Regions from separate parts of the Homo sapiens genome. Here all the other regions are linked to region 1. Evidence: promoter capture Hi-C in 16 types of primary human blood cells and fetal thymus (Javierre and others, 2016). All regions are on one chromosome and are shown on one strand. Each heading gives the region's core, a stretch centred on a gene start or on the middle of the fragment in contact. The rest is flanking DNA. Distances are from core to core; before and after follow the strand shown. Region 1 holds the start of RLIG1 (RNA 5'-phosphate and 3'-OH ligase 1). Region 2 overlaps SNRPF (small nuclear ribonucleoprotein polypeptide F). Region 3 overlaps METAP2 (methionyl aminopeptidase 2). Region 4 overlaps VEZT (vezatin, adherens junctions transmembrane protein). Region 5 holds the start of NR2C1 (nuclear receptor subfamily 2 group C member 1). Region 6 has its middle 9.1 kb from the start of CEP83-DT. Region 7 overlaps CEP83 (centrosomal protein 83).

The links. The method cuts DNA at HindIII sites, captures the fragments that hold promoters and counts their contacts. A CHiCAGO score of 5 or more calls a contact.
Region 2: a contact is called between a fragment that was not itself captured here and the fragment with the promoter of RLIG1 in region 1, in 6 of 17 cell types (fetal thymus, non-activated CD4 T cells, activated CD4 T cells and 3 more). The highest score is 15.1, in fetal thymus.
Region 3: a contact is called between a fragment that was not itself captured here and the fragment with the promoter of RLIG1 in region 1, in 1 of 17 cell types (non-activated CD4 T cells). The highest score is 5.8, in non-activated CD4 T cells.
Region 4: a contact is called between a fragment that was not itself captured here and the fragment with the promoter of RLIG1 in region 1, in 4 of 17 cell types (non-activated CD4 T cells, activated CD4 T cells, naive CD8 T cells and 1 more). The highest score is 12.3, in non-activated CD4 T cells.
Region 5: a contact is called between a fragment that was not itself captured here and the fragment with the promoter of RLIG1 in region 1, in 3 of 17 cell types (activated CD4 T cells, non-activated CD4 T cells and fetal thymus). The highest score is 10.2, in activated CD4 T cells.
Region 6: a contact is called between a fragment that was not itself captured here and the fragment with the promoter of RLIG1 in region 1, in 1 of 17 cell types (non-activated CD4 T cells). The highest score is 5.5, in non-activated CD4 T cells.
Region 7: a contact is called between a fragment that was not itself captured here and the fragment with the promoter of RLIG1 in region 1, in 2 of 17 cell types (activated CD4 T cells and non-activated CD4 T cells). The highest score is 5.4, in activated CD4 T cells.

Annotation. Positions count from the first base shown.
Region 1 is chr12:88,034,027-88,036,892 of GRCh38, forward strand. RLIG1 (RNA 5'-phosphate and 3'-OH ligase 1) reads left to right here and starts at 1,510. Exons shown (of 7, transcript NM_001009894.3): 1 at 1,510-1,712. The coding sequence starts at 1,623. It overlaps LOC107984542 (a long non-coding RNA gene), which reads right to left and starts at 1,470. Exons shown (of 3, transcript XR_007063395.1): 1 at 1,388-1,470; 2 at 1-321. The HindIII fragment of the contact is 2,128 bases long and covers 1-2,064 here.
Region 2 is chr12:95,860,975-95,863,840 of GRCh38, forward strand. SNRPF (small nuclear ribonucleoprotein polypeptide F) reads left to right here. Exons shown (of 4, transcript NM_003095.5): 2 at 194-319. Among named protein-coding and RNA genes, the nearest start is that of SNRPF, 3.5 kb to the left of the region's middle. The HindIII fragment of the contact is 5,419 bases long and covers 1-2,866 here.
Region 3 is chr12:95,486,908-95,489,773 of GRCh38, forward strand. The region is part of intron 4 of METAP2 (methionyl aminopeptidase 2); the gene reads left to right. Among named protein-coding and RNA genes, the nearest start is that of METAP2, 14 kb to the left of the region's middle. The HindIII fragment of the contact is 2,028 bases long and covers 366-2,393 here.
Region 4 is chr12:95,221,331-95,224,196 of GRCh38, forward strand. All of the region lies in intron 1 of VEZT (vezatin, adherens junctions transmembrane protein), which reads left to right. Among named protein-coding and RNA genes, the nearest start is that of VEZT, 5.0 kb to the left of the region's middle. The HindIII fragment of the contact is 875 bases long and covers 936-1,810 here.
Region 5 is chr12:95,071,423-95,074,288 of GRCh38, forward strand. NR2C1 (nuclear receptor subfamily 2 group C member 1) reads right to left here and starts at 2,196. Exons shown (of 14, transcript NM_003297.4): 1 at 1,958-2,196. RefSeq lists a silencer at 1,614-1,893 and enhancers at 1,783-2,283, 1,974-2,293. The HindIII fragment of the contact is 306 bases long and covers 1,317-1,622 here.
Region 6 is chr12:94,467,684-94,470,549 of GRCh38, forward strand. No RefSeq gene overlaps it. Among named protein-coding and RNA genes, the nearest start is that of CEP83-DT, 9.1 kb to the left of the region's middle. The HindIII fragment of the contact is 1,434 bases long and covers 635-2,068 here.
Region 7 is chr12:94,450,543-94,453,408 of GRCh38, forward strand. The region is part of intron 1 of CEP83 (centrosomal protein 83); the gene reads right to left. Among named protein-coding and RNA genes, the nearest start is that of CEP83, 7.9 kb to the right of the region's middle. The HindIII fragment of the contact is 447 bases long and covers 1,221-1,667 here.

The sequences.
Region 1 (2,866 bases), core at 260-2,759:
CTAGCTTTGCAACTACTATTCAAAGAATAAGTAGAGTGTGTTTTAGAAGATGAGTATTTCCCACAAATGACAGAATGTTGGACTTAAAAGGTTCTGTGGCAGTTTGGGAGGTGACAGTTGATAGTTGTGAAAGTTGTTGTCTCTGAGATTCGTGAAACACGCCGCTTTTTAGAATGCCTCTGAAAGAACAAAGAAGTCACTGGCACTCGACTATAATATGCTAAAAAGTTTCTGGTTCCAACAGCACACAGCCAGCATCAGGTGTTTTCTTTTTTGATAAATGCAGGCGGGGTGTGATGTGGGAGAACATTTTGTGTTTTCCTGTGAGAAAAAGATAGTAGAAAAGAAAGTAAACACTTTGAAATGGCAAATCTCTTTCTTCCTCCCTCCCCTCTGAATCCAGTAATCAAAAAACTGTGAACTTTTTTTAAATTTTATTTTTTTTCACTGTCAGTATTCAATATAACTGTGAACTTTTTAAAGGAAGATGTTTTATTCTTTGAGAACCCCCTTACTAGTTAGATACCTCTAAGTGAGATATAGTTGTTTAATTTTTCCAAGGGCTAAGTCAGTAACATGCTGGACAGTTGAGTACATGCAGATAAGACAAAGAAATGAGACCTGGGCCTAGTCCAAGCCCATAAAGGATGGCAGTAAAGTCAAAATTCCCCTACAACTTCAGGCTAGGAACTACTACATTCAATGAGATGGAAAGGCTACTATTCCTAAATATTTAGTATTTATTTTATTTAGTCATTGTCCATCTTATCACTTACCCTCAAAATATTCTTTTGAGCAGTAAGTTAAGGCTGTTTTTAGCTCGCAGTTGATTGACTACCATTACTCAAGCCATTTGGGCTGTTGGAGCTCACCTTTAATTAAACAAGATTCTTATGAAAAACTTGAGAATGAAATCTGGTTGTAGGTATTCCTGTACTTTTGGATTAGTCTAAGGCTGAAATTTCGCACTCACTCCGAAAAGAACATCAGAATCATTTCGACCATGCTATGCTGCACAATAAGGAGTAGTTCAAACGACAACTTTTTTTGATCCCAGGTGTTTTATTATAGGGTTTTCTGATAGTCTTACCGGAAAGGAAGTTTTCATTCTGCTTGGGAATCTGGGGATGTCTCTAGCCATTTCTAAACTTCTACAGTGCTTCCCCCACGAACTAAAGATAACAGGCAAGCAGTTTCCATTGGAACTGTGTTAAATCGACATCTGAAATGTTCATTGCTTATAATTTGATCTTATTTAATTTCCCAAAAAATCATTAGTTACTAGGTATTGCTAAGTACCCACGTTCGGGAAACGCATCTTTTTTTTTTTTTTTTCACGGTTATTAAAACCGAGGGTGGGGGGCGGAGGACGCACGTGGGAACCCACCAGGCGCCTCAGCTTCTGCACTACAACTCCCAGAAGGCGCCGCGGCCAGGAAGCCGCTTCTGGACGGGCGTTCCCGCCCCTCGCTGGGCTTGGTAGTTGGGGCGCAGCCGCGGTGGCTGGGCGCGGAGTGTGCGTGGCCTGAGCCGTGCGGGTGACTGCTTCAGGGCTTCTCCGCGACTGGACCGGGCGCCGCTCGAAAGCACGCCCTCCATTCGCACTGCTTGTTGGGCTCATCATGAAGCGCTTGGGCTCCGTGCAGCGGAAAATGCCGTGTGTGTTTGTGACGGAGGTGAAAGAGGAGCCTTCCTCCAAAAGGGAGCATCAGGTACGGAGGAGCGCCGGGCAGGCTTGGCGGCCCGCGTGGGCTCCTCCCCGCGGCGCTGGCTCAGTGCGAACCCGGCGAGGGCGGCTGGGCGCTTTAGAACTGCCCTGCAGGCCAGGAACCTCTGTAGGTTTCCCTGGGGAGGTCTGGGGTGGGAGTTCCGTACGCCCTGAGCTCCAGGTTCTTGTACTTTTCTTAGTTGTGAGGGAGGGAATTTGCGAAAGAATTTTCCTTATCAGGAGATTCAAACTTGTCCTCGCAAGGAAATGGATAACTCACATCCACAGCATGTCCCTTCCTTTTCAGGTCAGCACCTTTTGGGGAAACCCCCTAATCAGGTAATTGCCACAGTCCAAGCTTTACTACTTTTCAAGAGTGCAGTAAGAAAGGGTGGATATTAGAAGACTTGCTTTACCTGTTCTGTCCGAACCAGTGGCGGTGTTGACAGTAGCCTAATTAGGTCACTGAAGTTCACACCTCATATTACCAGTAATTACTTAATTTATTCTAACTTTGGTGTTCTCAAGGTTTTCTGTTGCAGCAACGTGTTTTCCATAGTGTGCCCTCGGTAAATGCTAGTGAGTAACCTATATTTGGGTAATTTTTTCATATTGTACTATAAAACGTTGTAGTCTTTGATCAGTAGAATCCCCAGTGATTAGTTGGGTGCTTCCCAACTTTGCTGATTTCAAACAAAACCAACATGTCCATTGGAAATCCACCTCACTTGAGTTTCATCATTGGCACTGGCTTTCTCGTCTTCTGGACTAAAACTTGTTTAAGGCAAAGATTGCCCTGTTATCTTTAGTCCCAGCTTCTAGGACCTGGCACGTGGTAGGCACTGGATAAATATTTGTTGAATTAAAGAATGAACCCTGGAATCATTTCATGCCAGTTTTCCATTCACCTTGATGCTTTTTACCTTATAGCATCTGATCTTTTCCTGCTTTCTAGTGCTGTCACAGCTGTTACAGTTAATATTTCATGTCCTGCTCATTGCACCACCTAACTGGTCTTACTTGCCACTCAGACTGATCATCACCATGTTCTTTCCTCGTCAGAATACCACAGTTATTACTCAATGTTTGTAGCAGTAATTGGCTTTTTTTTTTAGCTGTAACAAATGTAATCCATATGAAACATTATCATCTGTTTTA
Region 2 (2,866 bases), core at 180-2,679, 7.8 Mb after region 1:
GTGAAATTGGCTAACTGGATATTTAAATTTCCCTGGTACTCTCAACAAATAAAAGTGAAAATTATGTACTAAAATAATAAGGAGTCAAAAGTTTTCTTCATTTGCATACCACAAAATATTGGTGATTCGGTAGAAGAGAGTTGGTGGTGGGAGGAAAAATAATTAATTAGATCCTTTTTTGTTCTTTGTGCAGAGTTTACCCCTCAATCCCAAACCTTTCCTCAATGGACTAACAGGAAAGCCAGTGATGGTGAAACTTAAGTGGGGAATGGAGTACAAGGGCTATCTGGTATCTGTAGATGGCTACATGAACATGCAGGTAAGCTAAAGAGCTGTAAAGGTCATAACATTGCATTTATTTTGCTTCACCTTATTTCTCAAAGGTTTAGTCTGACTAATAAGAATACATACAATTAAATTGACAAATATACGGCAAAATTCAAAAATAAAGTCAAAGCCAGGAGGGATACTGTGATATACTAGGTACAAGACATGGACTTAAACCAGAATTCAGCTACAGATTTTATTCCTAGTAGTTAAAGTAGGAAGAGCTCAGACACTTGATTCATAATAATACCATAAGGGAAACACACTACTTTGCTGGAGAAAACAAAACATTTCTCATCATTTAGCCCTGAAAGAAAGTTTTCAAGTGAAATTATTGAGTCTTTTAATGAATGCTAAAGGCACAACACCAAAGCTATTGAGGAAATTCATTCCTTCAGGGGAAAGACAGATCTGCCAAAGGAATTGAACTGACTGTATGTCTGTCAAACGAGTTTCTGTAAATGATTCAGCCATGTGTTTTGGTGGGTTTTTTTGTAATTAATTATCTTTTTATTGTGGTAAAATATACATTACAATTTTGCCACTCTAACCATTTTTAAGTGTATAATTCAGTGGCATTAAGTACCTTCACATTGTTCTGCAGCCATCACCGTTGTCCATTTCTGGAACTTGTTTACCATCCAAAAGTGAAATTTTTTGCCCATTAAACAATAATTTTCCATTAAACAATAATTTTACAATTAAACATTAAACAATAATTTTCCATTCCTTCCTCCACCTAACTAACCCCTGGTAACCACTAGTCTACATGTCTATGAATTTGACCGTGCATAATACCTCATGTAAGTGGAATTGTGTATTATCCTTTTGTGTCTGGCTTGTTTGACTTAACGTAGTGTATTATTCAAGGTTCATCCATGTTGTAGCATGTGTCAGAATTTCCTTTTTATGACTGAATAATATTCCATTATATGGATATACCACATTCTAATCCATTTGCCTCTTGGTGGACACTGGGTTGCTTCCCTCTTTGGACTGTAGTAAATAATGCTGCTGTGAACATGGGTATACGAATGTCTGTTCCAGTCACTGCTTTCAGCTCTTTGGGGTATATACCCAGAAGTGGAATTACTGGATTACTGGTAATTCTATGTTTAATTTTTTAAGGAGGCCAAGCGTGGTGGCTCATGCCTGTAATCCCAGCACTTTGGGAGGCTGAGGCAGCAGATTGCTTGAGCCCAGGAGTTTGAGACCAGCCTGGGCAACATAGTGAAACTGCATCTCTACAAAAAAAATACAAAAACTAGCTAGGCATGATGGTGTGGGCAGCTATATTCCCAGCTACTCAGGAAGCTGAGTTGGGAGGATTACCTGAGCCTGGGGAGGTTGAAGCTGCAGTGAGCTGTGATCACTGCACTCTAGCCTGGATGACAGAGAAATTTTTTTTTTTCTTTTGAGTAACTGTCACACTATTTTCCACAGCAGCTACGTGGTTTTACATACCCACCAGCAATGCACAACGGTTCCAGTTTCTCCACATCCTCACCAACACTTGTTATTTTCTATGGGTGTTTATAAAATAGTTATTCTAATGGGTGTGAAGTGGTATCTTATTGTGGTTTTGATTTGCATTTGGCTAATGATGTTGAGCACCTTTTCATGTGTTTATTGGCCATTTGTTTATCTTTGGAGAAATGCCTGTTCATGTCTTTTGCACATTTAAAAAATTAGTTTGGGATTTTTTGTTGTTTTTTTAATGGTAGTAGTTTCCAGGCAGGTTTTTAAAGGCTATCAAGACAGGTGGTCAATCCAATCATGAATCCAAGGATTCCATACTTGTAAGCAGAGTACTAAAAGGAGTACTTAAGTAGGCAGAGAGCTATGATTTTCCTTAACTTAGGCAATTACCACCTGAGCACATGACATTAAGGCCCCCAAAGCATAGTTTGAGTGTGGAAAATTCCTTAAACAGGAGTCATTTACCAAGACCATAGAAAAATCTGGGAAGTATATGAATTGTGATGAAAATATTCTGGAAGTAGTGGTGATAGTTGCACAGGTTTTTGAATATACTGAAAACCACTGAATTGTACACTTTAAAAGGGTGAATTTTATGCTATGGAAATTAACATCTCAATAATAAAAGAATTACCACTTAATATTTGTTTTAGAATTAATATAGCTTGCTAGTGACCCTGCTAGAGTTGCAAAATGTCTGAGTAACCAACCACTTTGAGTAGTCAACCATATTGATACCAGTGTTTGAATTTGTTCACTCAGCAAATATTTATTGAATTCCATTATGTGCCTGGCACTGTGAATATAGCATTGAACAAAACAAAGTCCCTGCCCTCAACAGTTTATGGTTTAGTGGTGGGAGGTGGTAATATAATGTGATAATAGGCATGATAGATGCCATCCATGAAGAAAAGGGGGAAGACAGTATGTGCAATATTATATAGAGTAGCCTCTCTGAGGAGGCGAATTCTGGAAGATACCAGAATTAGTGTACAACTCAGTTGAGTATCTGGGGAAAAGCATCCCAGTTTGAGGGAACAGCAAGTACAAAGGCCCTGTG
Region 3 (2,866 bases), core at 130-2,629, 7.5 Mb after region 1:
ATGGTTAGCAGAAGTGGCATTATGAAGACATATTGAGAGCATGGAAGCTGGGGCCAAACTATCTGCATTTGAATCCCAGTTCTGACATTTATTAGCTTTGTGACTTGGGCAAGTAATTATCACATCTGTGCTTTTATTTCCTCATCCATAAAATGGGCACTCTGCAGGGTCATTGTGAGGAATGATATATGCATAGCACTTAGAAGAGTAGATGCATAGTGAACATAAAGCAAGCTAGTTCCTGTTATTCAAAGTAATAACCTGTCACCCACAATATTTATAATACCATGGACATTGATCAGTGTGTTTTACAAAGGGACTTAAGAGTATTGCTTAATCCAGTGGTTGCAGTCGTTGGTTAAGAAAGCTTCTACTGTAGCTCTTGTTTTCTTGGCCTGTAAAGACACCATTTTTTTTTTTAAAACATAGAAAAAAAGAAAGAACATACTGTTGTTACATTACCACCTGCTCCCTCATTTCCAGTTACGAATGTTCTTAGGGAATAAGTGTAAAGTTCTGGAATTGTATGACATGGGCTTCTTTTCTTTGAATTTGAAATCGTCAATTGTCCCTATCTTAAAAGCACTTATTTTTAAAATGCCACAGATACAGATAATTTTACATTAATAAATTCTTATAGTACATATGATGTGATCACATTTATTTTTAAATATAATCTCTTAATTTTTTTTTTTTTTTGCTTGTTCCCTCTTCTTTTCCTTCCTTCCAGACCCATGTTAACCACCTAGCAGGTAGCCTTCCATATTTTTTCTATGCTCATATATGTATACATCTGTCTGTTTATGTAAGGGAATGTTTGATCATTGTTTGTTTTACAAAAATGGAATCATAGGCACACTTTCCTCCACCTTTTCTCATTCAGTGCTAACTCTTGGAAGTTCCTCCAAGTCAATTAGAATAGTTCTATTATTATCTTGAATGGCTTCATAATATTCCGTGGTGTGAGTGTACCACACTTTATTCCACCATTCTTTAGCTGATGGCCATTTGCTTTGTCTGCAATAATTTTTGCCACTATAAACCATTCTGCAATAAACCTCCTTAGGTAAATAGGTAGCTGGATATGTAGGTATTTTTCTCTCTTTCTCATGTACTGGTAGTTATATTCTGAAATACGTTTTTAGGAGTGAGATTGATTAACCAAAGAATATATTAATAATTTCCAGTTCTTATACTATTAGTGATTTCGAGCATCTTTTGATCGTAGGCTTTATGATATCTTTTGCTCTTCCCAGAAGTTTTAAATTTTTAAATGCATTATGTGTCCATGTTTAATACTTCTGAGTTCCGGCCAGGCATGGTGGCTCATGCCTGTAATCCTAGCACTTTGGGAGGCTGAGGCAGGTGGATTACCTAAGGTCAGGAGTTCAAGACCAGCCTGGCCAACATGGTAAAACCCCGTCTCTACTAAAAATAAAAAAATAAAAAAAATTAGCCGGGTGCAGTGGTGCGTGCCTGTAATCCCAGCTACTCGGGGGGCTGAGGCAGGAGAATCGCTTGAACACAGGAGATGGAGGTTGCAGTGAGCTGAGATTGCACCACTGCACTACACCCTGGGTGACAGAGCGAGACTTTGTCTCACCAAAAAAAAAAAAAAAAAAAAAAAAAAAATACTTCTGAGTTCCCAGTAGTCTCTCAGATTTTCTTGAACACGTATTTTGTGTGTTATTACATCTTTAATCTGGAATTTTTTGTGTAAGGTTGGGAGCACTAATTATTTTATTTTTCTTTCCAGTGCAGAGTCAGTTTATTGTCTATTAAATAATCCCTCCTACTGAATTGAATGACCACCTTTGTCACATGCTGTATTCCCATGTATATAATGGAATCAGTTTCTGGATTATTTACTCTGCTCCACTGATCTGTTTCTTCTTAGGCTAATACTATTTTGATTTGATATCCCAAACAGTTCTTTTTAATACTTTTCTTAGCTACTCTCAGTCATATAGCCTTACACACACACACACACACAAATGTCCTTGTTAGAATTCTCATCAGAATTGCATTTATATTTATGTATTAGTTTCTGAAAATTGACAGTTTATCACCTTGTCTTATCCAATGTCATGGGATGTTTTTGATATTTTTTCACTTATTCAATTTTATTTTTTCCAGGTAGGTTCTAGCCCTTTTTAATTAAATTTGTTAGTGTTTTATGGTTTTTGTTAGTGATGTGAATTAAATATTTCAATCCCGTTTCTGTTTCTTTATACTTGCTGCTAGAGTGGAGGAAAGCCATTGATTTCTTATACTTGTTAACAGATTGTTAATACTTTTAACAATGTGAATGTTATGGAACACTTGAAGTGGTATTTAATACATGAAAAAAATGAGATTTTGTAAACTTCAAAAACTTCCTTTTCCTTACTCTAAGCTTCTATTGAAATTAAATAAGTAGAATAACTTCTGTTTTTGAAATAATAGAGGAAGATATTAATTACATGTTATAATACTTCTCAAAGTAATTTTCTTAAATATTGCATTATTGTATGTTATCCTGGAGAAATACAGAATAAGTATAAGATAGTGTGGTGTGTTTGCTTTTTAATAAATCTCAATACTTTTTACATTCATATAACCAGTTTTGACTATTTGCAAATAGATCAGATTCAGTATTCTTACAGATTTGGTATAGTTTGTATCTTTCCTTCATTGTTTTATTAATAAACTTTTATTAGAAATTGAATGAATTATCACAACTCACCTTTGAAACTACTCTAGGTTAAGTGTATTTTTAAAAACTTCTTATTTTGTACAAAATTAGTCGGGCATGGTGGCGCATGCCTGTAATCCCAGCTACTTGGGAGGCTGAAGCAGGAGAATCTCTTGAACCTGGGAGGCGGAG
Region 4 (2,866 bases), core at 123-2,622, 7.2 Mb after region 1:
AGCCAGGCAGATCACTTGAGGCTAGGAGTTTGAGACCAGCCTGGCCAACATGGCGAAACCCAGTCTCTACTAAAAAATACAAAAACTAGCTGGGCATGGTGGCATGCACCTGTAGTCCCAGCTACTCCAGAGGCTGAGGCATGAGAATCGCTTGAACCCAGGAGGCGGAGGTTGCTCTGGGTGACAGAGTAAGATTCCATCTCAAAAAAAAAAAATAAAGGAAATACTCTGGCCCAGTGAGGTGGCTCATGCCTGTAATCCCAGCACTTTGGGAGGCTAAGGTAGGAATATTGCTTGAAGCCAGGAGTTTAAGACCAGCCTGGTCAACATTAACAAAACCCTGCATATTAAAAAAAAAAAAGAAAAAAATTAACCAGGTGTGGTGATGCATGTCTGTAATGCCAGCTACTCCACAGCCTGAGGCAGAAGATTGCTTGAGCCCAGGAATTTGAGGCTGCAGTGAGCTACAATTCCAGCCTGGGTGACAGAGTGAGACCATATCTCTAAATAAATAAATAAATACTCAAAAATATTCAAAAAATAATACAAATAAAAAAACTATACAGGATAACAACTATTTACATAGTGTTCACATTGTATTAGGTATTACAAATAATCTAGAGATGATTTAAAATATGTGGGAGACTGTGTGTATGTTATATGCAAATACTATGCCATTTTATATAAGGGACTTGAGCATCCATGGACTGGGTATTTGCCCTAGTCCTGTGACCAATTCCCCATGAATAAAGAGACAACTGTATATACCTCATATATCTTACCTTGGGCTATATGTGGCCTCTGCACTCTTTTAATCGTGTCTTTCAATGAACAGAAGCTCCTTATTATAATCCAATTAAACCTTATTCTTTTGTGATTAGTGCTGTTAAAAAAATATTTGCCTACTCTAAGGTCACAAAGATATTTTCTTTAAAAGCTTTATTTGACATTTTCCCATTTAGATCTGTCATCCATCTGGTACTGATTTTTGTATGGTAACAAGTGAAGATCAACATTTTTTTTTCCCCGTATGGATGTCCAGTTGACCTGGCACCATTTACTGAACAGATCATTTTTTCCCCACTGAACTGTAGTGTTGCCTTTGTCATAAATCAGGGAATCTTTTATGTGTAGATCTCTTTCTGGACACTGTCTTCTTTGCCATTGATCATTTTGTCTATTCGTGTGTTAATACCACATTATTTTAATTACTATAATTTAAAAAATAGGTTTTAATATCTGATAGCATAAGACCCTTCAGCTGTATTTTTCTTCAGGATTGCCTTTGGCTATTCTTGGCCCATTATATTTCCATATAAATTTTAGAATCAGCCTGTCAGTTTTTGTAAAAAAATAAAAAATAAAAATAAAAAAACCCTACTGAGACTTTGATTGAAATTGCTTTGAAGCTATAAATTAATCTGGGGAAACTTAACATCTTTACAATCAATATTGAATCTTCCAATCCGTGAACATTTATTGCTTGCCTTCTAAATGAATCAAGCAACTTCTCATCTCGTTCTGTGCTCTAGGACTGATTTTACAAAATGAGAATTATCTGTTTCTTCAGAGTATAGCTAAATTGGCCTTTCCTGGGGAAAAGAGACTGAATGTTGTCTATCAGCTCAATTTCTTTTATGGTTATTGCTCAGGTACAATTTTCTATTTTGATAACTTTTTTATTCTGAAAGGCAGTGTAATATAGTTAAAGATATGGGCTCTGGAGCTGGATAACCTAAGAAATCCTAGGTCAGCTATTTATTAGTTATATTAGTTAATGTGACTTTGAGCAGGTTACTTAACTTGTCTAAGCTTCAGTTTTCTCCATATTAAATAAAAATAACAGTAACTATCTCGTAAGGTAGTTATGAGTACTAAATGATTTAATATAAGTGAATTACTTAGATGAGTACCTGACACATTGTAAACACTCAGTAAATGTTACCTTTTATTAAATTTTTCCAACAAATTGCTTTTTATCTAGGTTTTCAAAATTATTGATATATTCTTAGTAGTCTCTTTAGTTTCATTTATAGCACAAATTAGATCTGATTGTTGTTATGTTTTTCTTTTTGTTTTGCATAGATGTGCTGGAGTTTCAACTTACCAGATAGACTTTTCTTTTTTTTGAGACAGAGTTCCACTCTGTTAGCCTTGTCGCCCAGGCTGGAGTGCAATGGCAGGATCTTGGCTTGCTGCAACCTCTGCCTCCTGGGTTCAAGCAATTCTCCTGCCTCAGCCTCCCGAGTAGCTGGGATTACAGGCACCCATCACCATGCCCAGCTAATTTTTGTATTTCTAGTAGAGATGGGGTTTCACCATGTTGGCCAGGCTGGTCTTGAACTCCTGACCTCGGGTGATCCACCCACCTCGGCCTACCAAAGTGCTGGGATTACAGATGTGAGCCACCGTGCCTGGCCTCAGGTAGACTTTTCAAAAAACTAGTTGGTTTTGTTTGGTCAGTTCTATTGAATTTGTTTGTGGTTTTAAATTTTTTTAAAATTTCTACTTTTATCTATTTCCATTCATCTATTTGTGTTTATTTTGCTATTTTTGTTCTGTTTTTTTTAGCTTCTTGAGTTAAAAACCTAAATGCCCAAAATAACTTGTAAGGCTATAAATTTCCCTGAGTATTGCTTCAGTTGTATCACGAAAGTTTTGAAATGTAGTTTGTCTCATGGTTGTATAAGTTCCATTTTTATTTCTTATTTAATACCCAAGTATATAGTTGAGGGATTGATGTTATCATTGGTGATTATTTTTCTCCCTGTGTCCCTCAGACCCATAATTCCACCCTGATCATTATGGACTGCATCACTGCATTCCCTTGTCCTCTGGGTTCCATTTAGGTTCGGCCAGTGGGAAG
Region 5 (2,866 bases), core at 220-2,719, 7.0 Mb after region 1:
GCAACGAATTATATTTATACTATTATTTATTGTATGCTGTTTTGTTTTTATTCCCCAAGAGTAGGGATTATACATTGTGTGGCAGACACACAGACGGTGTGTGTTTGGGGATGTTTGCTCCCTCAAAATCCTTCCTTAAGATGCGGTGCCTGTAATTCCAGCTACTCAACAGGCTGAGGCAGGAGGATAGCTTGAGGCCAGAGATCTGTCTGGATAACAAAATGAGGCCCCCCACCATTTCTATAAAACAAAACAAAAAAACCTTTCCTAGAAGAAACTAACATGCCCCTTGAAAAACTAAGATTAGCAACATTTCATAAAACCCACTTTTTTTTTTTTTTTTGAGACGGAGTTTCGCTCTTCTTGCCCAGGCTGGAGTGCAATGGCGCGATCTCAGCTCACTGCAACCTCCGCCTCCCGGGTTCAAGCAATTCTCCTGCCTCGGCCTCCGGAGTTGCTGGGATTACAGGTGTGCGCCACCACGCCCGACTAATTTTGTATTTTTAGTAGAAACGGGGTTTCTCCATGTTGGTCAGGCTGGTCTCGAACTCCCGACTTCAGATGATCCGCCCACCTCAGCCTCCCAAAGTGCTGGGATTACAGGTGTGAGCCACCGCGCCCAGCCGCGACCCACTTTTAATGATAGAAATACACATCGCTTTTTCAGATATACTAACTGGACTTAAAGCAAAGTTTAAAAACAATCATCGGCCGGGCGCGGTGGCTCACGCCTGTAATCCCAGTACTTTGGGAGGCCGAGGCGGGTGGATCAGAGGCGGGTACATCACGAGGTCAGAGTATCAAGACCATCCTGGCCAACATAGTGAAACCCCACCTCTACTAAAAATACAAAAAACAAAAACAAAAACAAAAACAAAAAAACTAGCTGGGTGTGGTGGCTCGTGTCTGTAATCCCAGCTACTCGGGAGGCTGAGACAGGAGAATCGCTTGAACCTGGAGGCGGAGGTTGCAGTGAGCCGAGATCGCGCCACCGCACTCCAGCTTGGCGACAGTGAGACTCCCTCTCCCTCTCAAAAAAAAAAAAAAAAAAAGAAAAAAAAATCGAGTATCACCAACCACACAGCAGAAATGGTTCAAAAAAGCTCAAAATCGAAGGTCCATTTACAAATTCTAGCGGTACTAAACCCTAAAGGCCGTAATTTTAGGTCTTTCTGCTTTTGCTTTCCGGTTACTTTTTTAAAGGCTGACCTACTTACTGAAGATTATGGGACAACCTGGCAACATTCGTACTGCACAAAAATGGTATCTGCCCGAGTTGGAAGAATTATTTCTTAACAAAAGAGCTATCTATCGGAAGCTTGGACATGCCCCCTGCAGTGAGAACCCTGGGGCCGTTCCATTTCTTCTGAAAAGATCCAGGCCCACAGGCAGCGACGACCCTGGCCAGATTTGCCGTGAGAGAAAAGTGAAAGTGGGGGGAGTCATTCTGTCCGTCCCGTGAAAGCACGGGAGTTAGTGACGGGATGCAGGCCGGGACTTGCGGCCACTAGCCGAGGGTCGGCCTCTCCCACGTCTCACTCGTGCCGGCGTTAGCCGTGCGCCCTGGAAGCCCCGGCGCTGCGCGCGGCTCTCCCGGGCGGGGAAAGCTGCAGCGCCGCGGAAGCTTTCCCTGCAGGTTAAAGGTCAGAGGCGCTGCGGTAAGCGCAGCTGGAAAGGGGGTTGTGTGCTCCAAGCCGCTCGCCGTCCGGCCCCGCGTCCCGCCGCCCCTGTCGCCCCCGCCTCTCCCGGGGCCCCGCGCATTTGGCGCCGCAGCTCCGCGCTCCCAGCCGAAGTCGAGCAGCCCCAAGCGGCGCTCCCAAACTGAACGGCTCCGCTGGCCGCAGGACGCCGGCCGGGGGATGCGCTGGGACCGCGTCCGTTGGCGGTTGGGGTGAAGGGCACCCCCTGGCCCCCGCCCCCGACGCGGTCGCTGGTGTCCCCACCCAGCGTTTCTTACCGGCGCTTTTGCGCCCTGCTGACTCCGGCGTCGGGCGCCGACGCGACAGTCCCGCGGCTGCCACTCGTGGATTGGGGGGCGCTCCGGGAAGAGAGGTTGAAGAAAGCCGACGGGATGTGGGATCGAGATTCACGGCGGAGAGAGCTTTCTGTGTTTGGGTATTTCTGGGGGGTCAGAGTTCGTGACCTCTTTCTCGGCTCGGCGGCGCGCTATCCCGCCAGCGCCTGCGCATTAGCAACGGGGAGAAGCGGCGAGAGGAGGTCGTGACGTTCCCAGGGTGGGGTGGAGGGATCGGAGGGCCGAGCAGCGGCTCTGTGAGTCCACTGCCCCCTTTTGGCTTGGAGGCAGAGTGCCCCGCCAGAGCTACGCGTTCCCAGCCAGGTAATTTTTGAAGCCACGTGCAAAGGTTTAAGCATCGTTTGCCAAAGGTGGGCATTAGGGGAGGTTTTGAGTCAACGTTTTAGATTTGAGTAATAAATAACCCTCTGGGTCTTAGGCATATCTGTTTCTAATTTCTGGAAAACTGGGCTCTGGGGTAGAGTCCAATCATATTTAAACTTTTTTTTTTTTGTATTACACTTTAAGTTCTAGAGTACATGTACACAACGTGCAGGTTCGTTACATATGTATACATGTGCCATGTTGGTGTGCTGCACCCATTAACTCGTCATTTACATTAGTAAGCTTTATATATAATGACAAGCTGAGGCCGACTCATGCAAATGGTAAGGCAAAGTTTCACTTATAAACTGTTGTGAGTAAAGAGACATAATGGCTAAACAGGGCAAGAATATAATCACTAGAGACTGGGCACGGTAGCTCACGCCTGTAATCCCAGCAAGTTGGGAGGCCGAGGCGGACGGATCACTTGAGCCCGGTTGTTTGAGGCCAGCCTGGCCAACATGGCGA
Region 6 (2,866 bases), core at 102-2,601, 6.4 Mb after region 1:
ACATCAAAAAGAATAAAATGCTTAGGAATTAACCAAGGAGGTGAAAGACTTACACATGCAAGCTACAAAACATTGCAAAATAAATTAAAGAAGATATAAATAAATGGAAACACATCTATGTTCATGGATTGGAGCAGTATTAAAATGTCAATACTGTATGAAACAATCAACACATTATGCAATCCTTATTAAAATCCCAATGACAATTTTTGCAGAAATGGAAAAATCATCCTAAAATTCATATGGAATCTCAAGGGAACTGAAATAGTCAAAACAATCTTGAAAAAAGAACAAGGCTCAAGTACTCACACTTACTGATTTCAAAACTTACTACAAAGCTATAGTAATTAAAACAGTGTAGTATTGGTGTAAAGACAGACATAGACCAATGAAATAGAATGGAGAGCCTAAAAATAAACTCCCTCATTTATGATCAAATAGTTTTTGATAAGGGTGCCAAGACCATTCAATGGGGAAAGGACAGTCTTTTCAACAAATAGTGCTGGGAAAACCAGACCCAGAATGAAGTTGAACCCTTACCCAACACCATATACAAAAATTAACTCAAAATGGATAAAAGACATAAACATAAGACTTAAAACTATAAAACTCTTAGAAGAAAACACAGAACAAAAGCTTCATAGCATTGGATTTGACATTGATTTCTTGGATATTAAACCAAAGGCCTAGGCAACAAAAGAAAAAATAGACAAATTTCACTTTATGAAAATTTTAAAATTTTGTATATCAGATGACACTATCAACAGAGTAAAAAGGCAAGCCACAGAACAGGAGAAAATATTTTCAAGTCATATCTGATAAGTGATTGATATTCAGAATATATAGAGAACTCCTAACAAAGAATACAATTTTAAAATGGGCAAAGGAGGCCGGGCATGGTGGCTGATGCCTGTAATCCCAGCACTTTAGGAGACCAAGGGGGGCAGATCAGTTGAACTCAAGAGTTCAAGACCAGCCTGGACAATATGGTAAAACCCCATCTCTACCAAAAATACAAAAAATTAGCCAGGCATGGTGGTGCTTGCCTATAATCCCAGCTACTCAGGAGGCTGAGATGGGAGGATCACTTGAGCCTGGGAGGCAGAGGCTGCAGTGAGCCAAGATCACACCACTGCACTCCACCCTAGGTGACAGAGCAAGACTCCATCTCTAAATAAGTAAATAGATGGCAAGGGACACGAATAGACATTTCTCCAAAGAAAATATACAAATGGCCAATAAGCATATGAAAAAATGCCCAATTTAACTAATCATTAGGATGCAAATCAAAAGTATAATGAGACACCACCTCACACTCATTAGGGTGGCTACTATTTAAAAAAAATATTAGCAAGGATGTGGAAAAATTGGAATCCTTGTGCACTGTTGATGGGAATTAAAATAGTAGAGCCATTACAGAAAACAGTATGGAGGCTCCTCAAAAAATTAAAAATAGAGTTATATAATCTAGCAATTCCATTTATGGGTATATACCTAAAATAATTGAAAATACGTCTCTCCATACTCAGAAATGGAGCTAGAAAAAAAAGAGATTTGCACACCCATGTTCACAACCAGCATTATTCACAATAGCTAAAATGTGGAAACATCACAAGTCTCCATCCACAGATAAATGAATGAGCAATATAGTATATACATACAATAGAACAGTGGTCCCCAACCTTTTTGGCACCAGTTTCGTGGAAGACAATTTTTCCACAGATTGATGGGTGGGGGGGTGGTTTCAGGATGATTCGGGCACATTACATTTGTGTATTTTATTTCTATTATGACACTGTAATATGAAATAATTATACAACTCACCATAATGTAGAATCAGTGGGAGCCCTGAGCTTGTTTTCCTGTAACTAGATGGTCCCATCTGGGGGTGATGGAAGACAGTGACAGATCATGATTCTCATAAGGAGCATACAACCTCGATCCCTCACATGCACAGTTCACAACAGGGTTCGCACTCCTATGAGAATCTAATGCCGCCGCTGATCTGACAGGACGCAGCGCTCAGGCGGTAATGTGAGCGATGGGGAATGGCTGTAAATACAAATGAAGCTTTGCTTGCTCACCTGTTGCTCCCTGCTTTGCAGCCCAGTTCCTAACAGGCCATGGAATGGTACTGGTCCATATTATTCCACTTATCTGAGATACTTAAAGGAGTCAAAAGTACAGAGACAGTAGAATGGTGTTTGCCAGGGGCTGGTGGGGTGGGGGATCTGGGGAGTTACTGCTTAATGGGTATAGTTTCAGTTTTACAAGATAAAGAGAATTCTGGAGATAGATGCTGGTGATGGTTGCACATTTATGAATGTACAGTGTTTAATACGATGGAACTGTACACTACAAAATGGTTTTTATGTTATGTGTATTTTAACACAACAAAAAAATGGAGGAAGTACTTAATATCTTTGATCATCAAGGGAATGAAAATTAAATCTACAGAGGACTTCATTTCACAGACATTCCAAGGTGCTGAAATAAAGTGTAGTAGCCCAAACATTAACAAAGATGTGAAACAGCTGGAACTTACACATTGCTGATGTGAGTGTAAAATACTTTGGAAAAGTACTTGGCAATTTCTTTTCATTGTACTTTCATCTACCTTATTCATGGCTCATCAATTTCACTTAGTTACCCAAGAGACACGAAAATGCAACTTCACAAGAAAACTTACACAAAGAATGTTTAGAGCAACCTTATTCATAATAACCAAAAACTAATAACCTAAATGTATATCAACAGGAAAACAGATACAATTTAAAAATGATATATATTCTTACAACGGAATACAACTCAGCAATACAAAGGAACAAACTGCTGGTATACCTGACAACATGAGTAAGTCTCACAA
Region 7 (2,866 bases), core at 194-2,693, 6.4 Mb after region 1:
GCCTGGACGATTGCATTTTTTTGTGCTAACAATGAACAATTTGAAATCAAATCATGAAAACTCCATTTCCAAGAGCATCAAAATTATAACAGTCTTAGGAATAAATTTAACCAAATAAGTGCACGATTTGTACACTGAAAAGTAAAAAACATTATTAAGAGAAATGAAAGATCTAAGTAAATGGAGAGATATTACATGTTCATGGATTGGAAGACTCAAGATGGTTAAGTTAGTGATTCTTCCCATATTGATGGATAGATTCAATGCAAATCCTACAAACATCAGATGTGTTTTTGTAGAAATTAACAAGCTGATCCTAAATTGTATATGGAAATGGAAAGAGCATAGAACCAATTTTGAAAAAGAAGAAAATGTTACACTACTTATTTTGAAACTTACTATAAAACTGCAGTAATCAAGACAGAATAGTGTTGGAGTAAGGATAGGTTTATAGACATGAGTCTTGGAATAAATTCTTACATTATAGTCAACTGATATTTTACAAAGATGCCAATACAATTGAAGGGAAAAGAACAGTCTTTTTAACAAATGGTACTGGATAATTTGGCATTCACATTTTTAAAAAATGAACTTAGATCCTCTTCTTACATCAAATGCACGGTTAATTCAATATGAATCTTATATTTAAAGGAAAGAGCTCAAAGAAGACCTTTGGGAGCTCAAAGAAAAATCTTTGGGACCTTGGATTAGGCAAAAAGTTCGTATACATAACATGAAAGTACGTGCCACACACACAAAAGAAATGACTTCATTAAAAACTTTTGCACTTCAAAAGACAACAGTAAAAATATGAAAAGCCAAGACACCAACTGGGAGAAATATTTGCAAATCTTATCTCTGATATTAAAAACAATACAAACTTTCATCCAGCATATATAAAGAACTCTTACAACTCAGTAAGACCAAAAAAAAAAAAAAAAAAACCCAGCTAAAAAATGGGCAAATGCCTTAAACAGATATTCCACCAAATGGCCAATAACCACAGAAAAAGGTGTCCAACATTACTGTGCAGGGAAATGCAAATTAAAATTACAATGGGATACTACTAGATACTAACTAGAATGGCTATAATTAAAAAGATAATACCAACTGTTGGTGAGGATGTGGAGAAACTGGAATCATCATACATTGCTGGTAGGATGTAATTGGTACAGCTACTTTGGAAAACATTTTGACAGTTTCTTTAAAAGTTAAAAATAAGCTTACCATATAATTCAACAATTCCACTCCTAGGAATTTACCCAAAACAAATGAATACATATGCTCACACAAGGAATTACAGACAAATCTTCATAGCAGCATTATTCATAACAGCCAAAAACTGGAAACCATCCAATGTCTATCACCTAGTGAATGGGAAATACTATTCACTGGTTACCAGTAAATGGGAAATACTATTCACCAATACTATTCAACTGGTGAATGGAAAATACACACGAATACTATGCAACAATTAAAAAGAACAAAACATTGATATACATACATTAAATAAACCTCAAAAGCATGAAGTTAAAGAAGCCAGATGCAAAAGACTACTGTATTGATTCCATTTATATGAAATATGTAGAAAAGACAAATTTATAGTGATAGAAAGTAGATCAGTGGTTCTCTGGGGCTGTGGGAAGGAGTTACCTTAAATGCAAATAAGCTTGAGAGAATCTAGGAGACTGATAAAATGTCAGAAATTGCCTTGTGATGACAGTCGCACAACTCTATAAAGTTGCTAAAAACCATTAAATTGTACACTTACAATGAGTGGTTTTTATGGTAGGTAAAATATATCTCAATAAAGCTGTTTAAAAAGGGCTAGGTAGAAGAAAGAAGTTATCTCTTCCAAACTTTGGAAAATTTGTTGATAGTTGTAGTAATCAAGGCTGAGTTCAAAGGATGACCAAGCAAAAAGAATCCAGGTTCTTAAAGATTATCACTAAGCCACTTAATTGACAATCTTAGAACCACCTATCTCCAGACTTCTTACATGTGAGATAATACAATTTCCTTCTTAAGGCTTTAAAAAAGAAAAAGAAAAAAGAATAACGTTGCTAATTCTAAGGGACACAGGACATGTTCATTCCATTACAGAAAATTTGTAATATCATCCATAGAGGAAGATATCAAAGAAAAGGCAGGAATTTTGGTGGATCTTGAAGGATGAAAGAATATGACGGGGGATGGGGAAGGAAAAGAAGGGTATGTAGTTCAGAAGAGTCATTAATAATGGCAAGGATAAAAATCAACAATGCCCACTAAAAGTCAAGTTTACAGCTTACCTTATTTTAATCCATACATTAAGGACCAAAAAATTAAGTAACTGGTTCAAAAAGTTACGCAGCTAGTAATCTAACCTTCACTCTCAGGATCCAGGCTCCAAAGTACATACTCTTTCCTCTGTTACGCTGCTAAACAAGGACTTAAACTACCCCCATTTGCAAGTTCAGATCTTTGTAGAGGGCATCTTTATTTAGATAGGTTTACATTTATAGGACTACACACTCAATGTTTCTTGAGCAACAATTTCCATTTAATCAATAAACTAAATGTGATGTGCATTCTTTCTTTGGTTTCCAAAACGTTACCCTACTCTGGTTTTCCTACCTTCTTTCTCCCCCTTCCTATTACATGCTGGTGTTCACAAGCTCTCTTCTGATTCTACACAACTCTCACTAGGAACCTCATCTATACCTGGTATTTCAACTACCACTAACGTTGATGACTCTTCTCTCTCTCCAACTTCAAGAATTGTTTTCCTAGTTTTCTTTGACTAACTTCCTCCGGGCCAAGTTGAATACTGCTCTGTACACCCTACAACTACACTTACAAGATTCTAAAGAGACATTCCTCAATT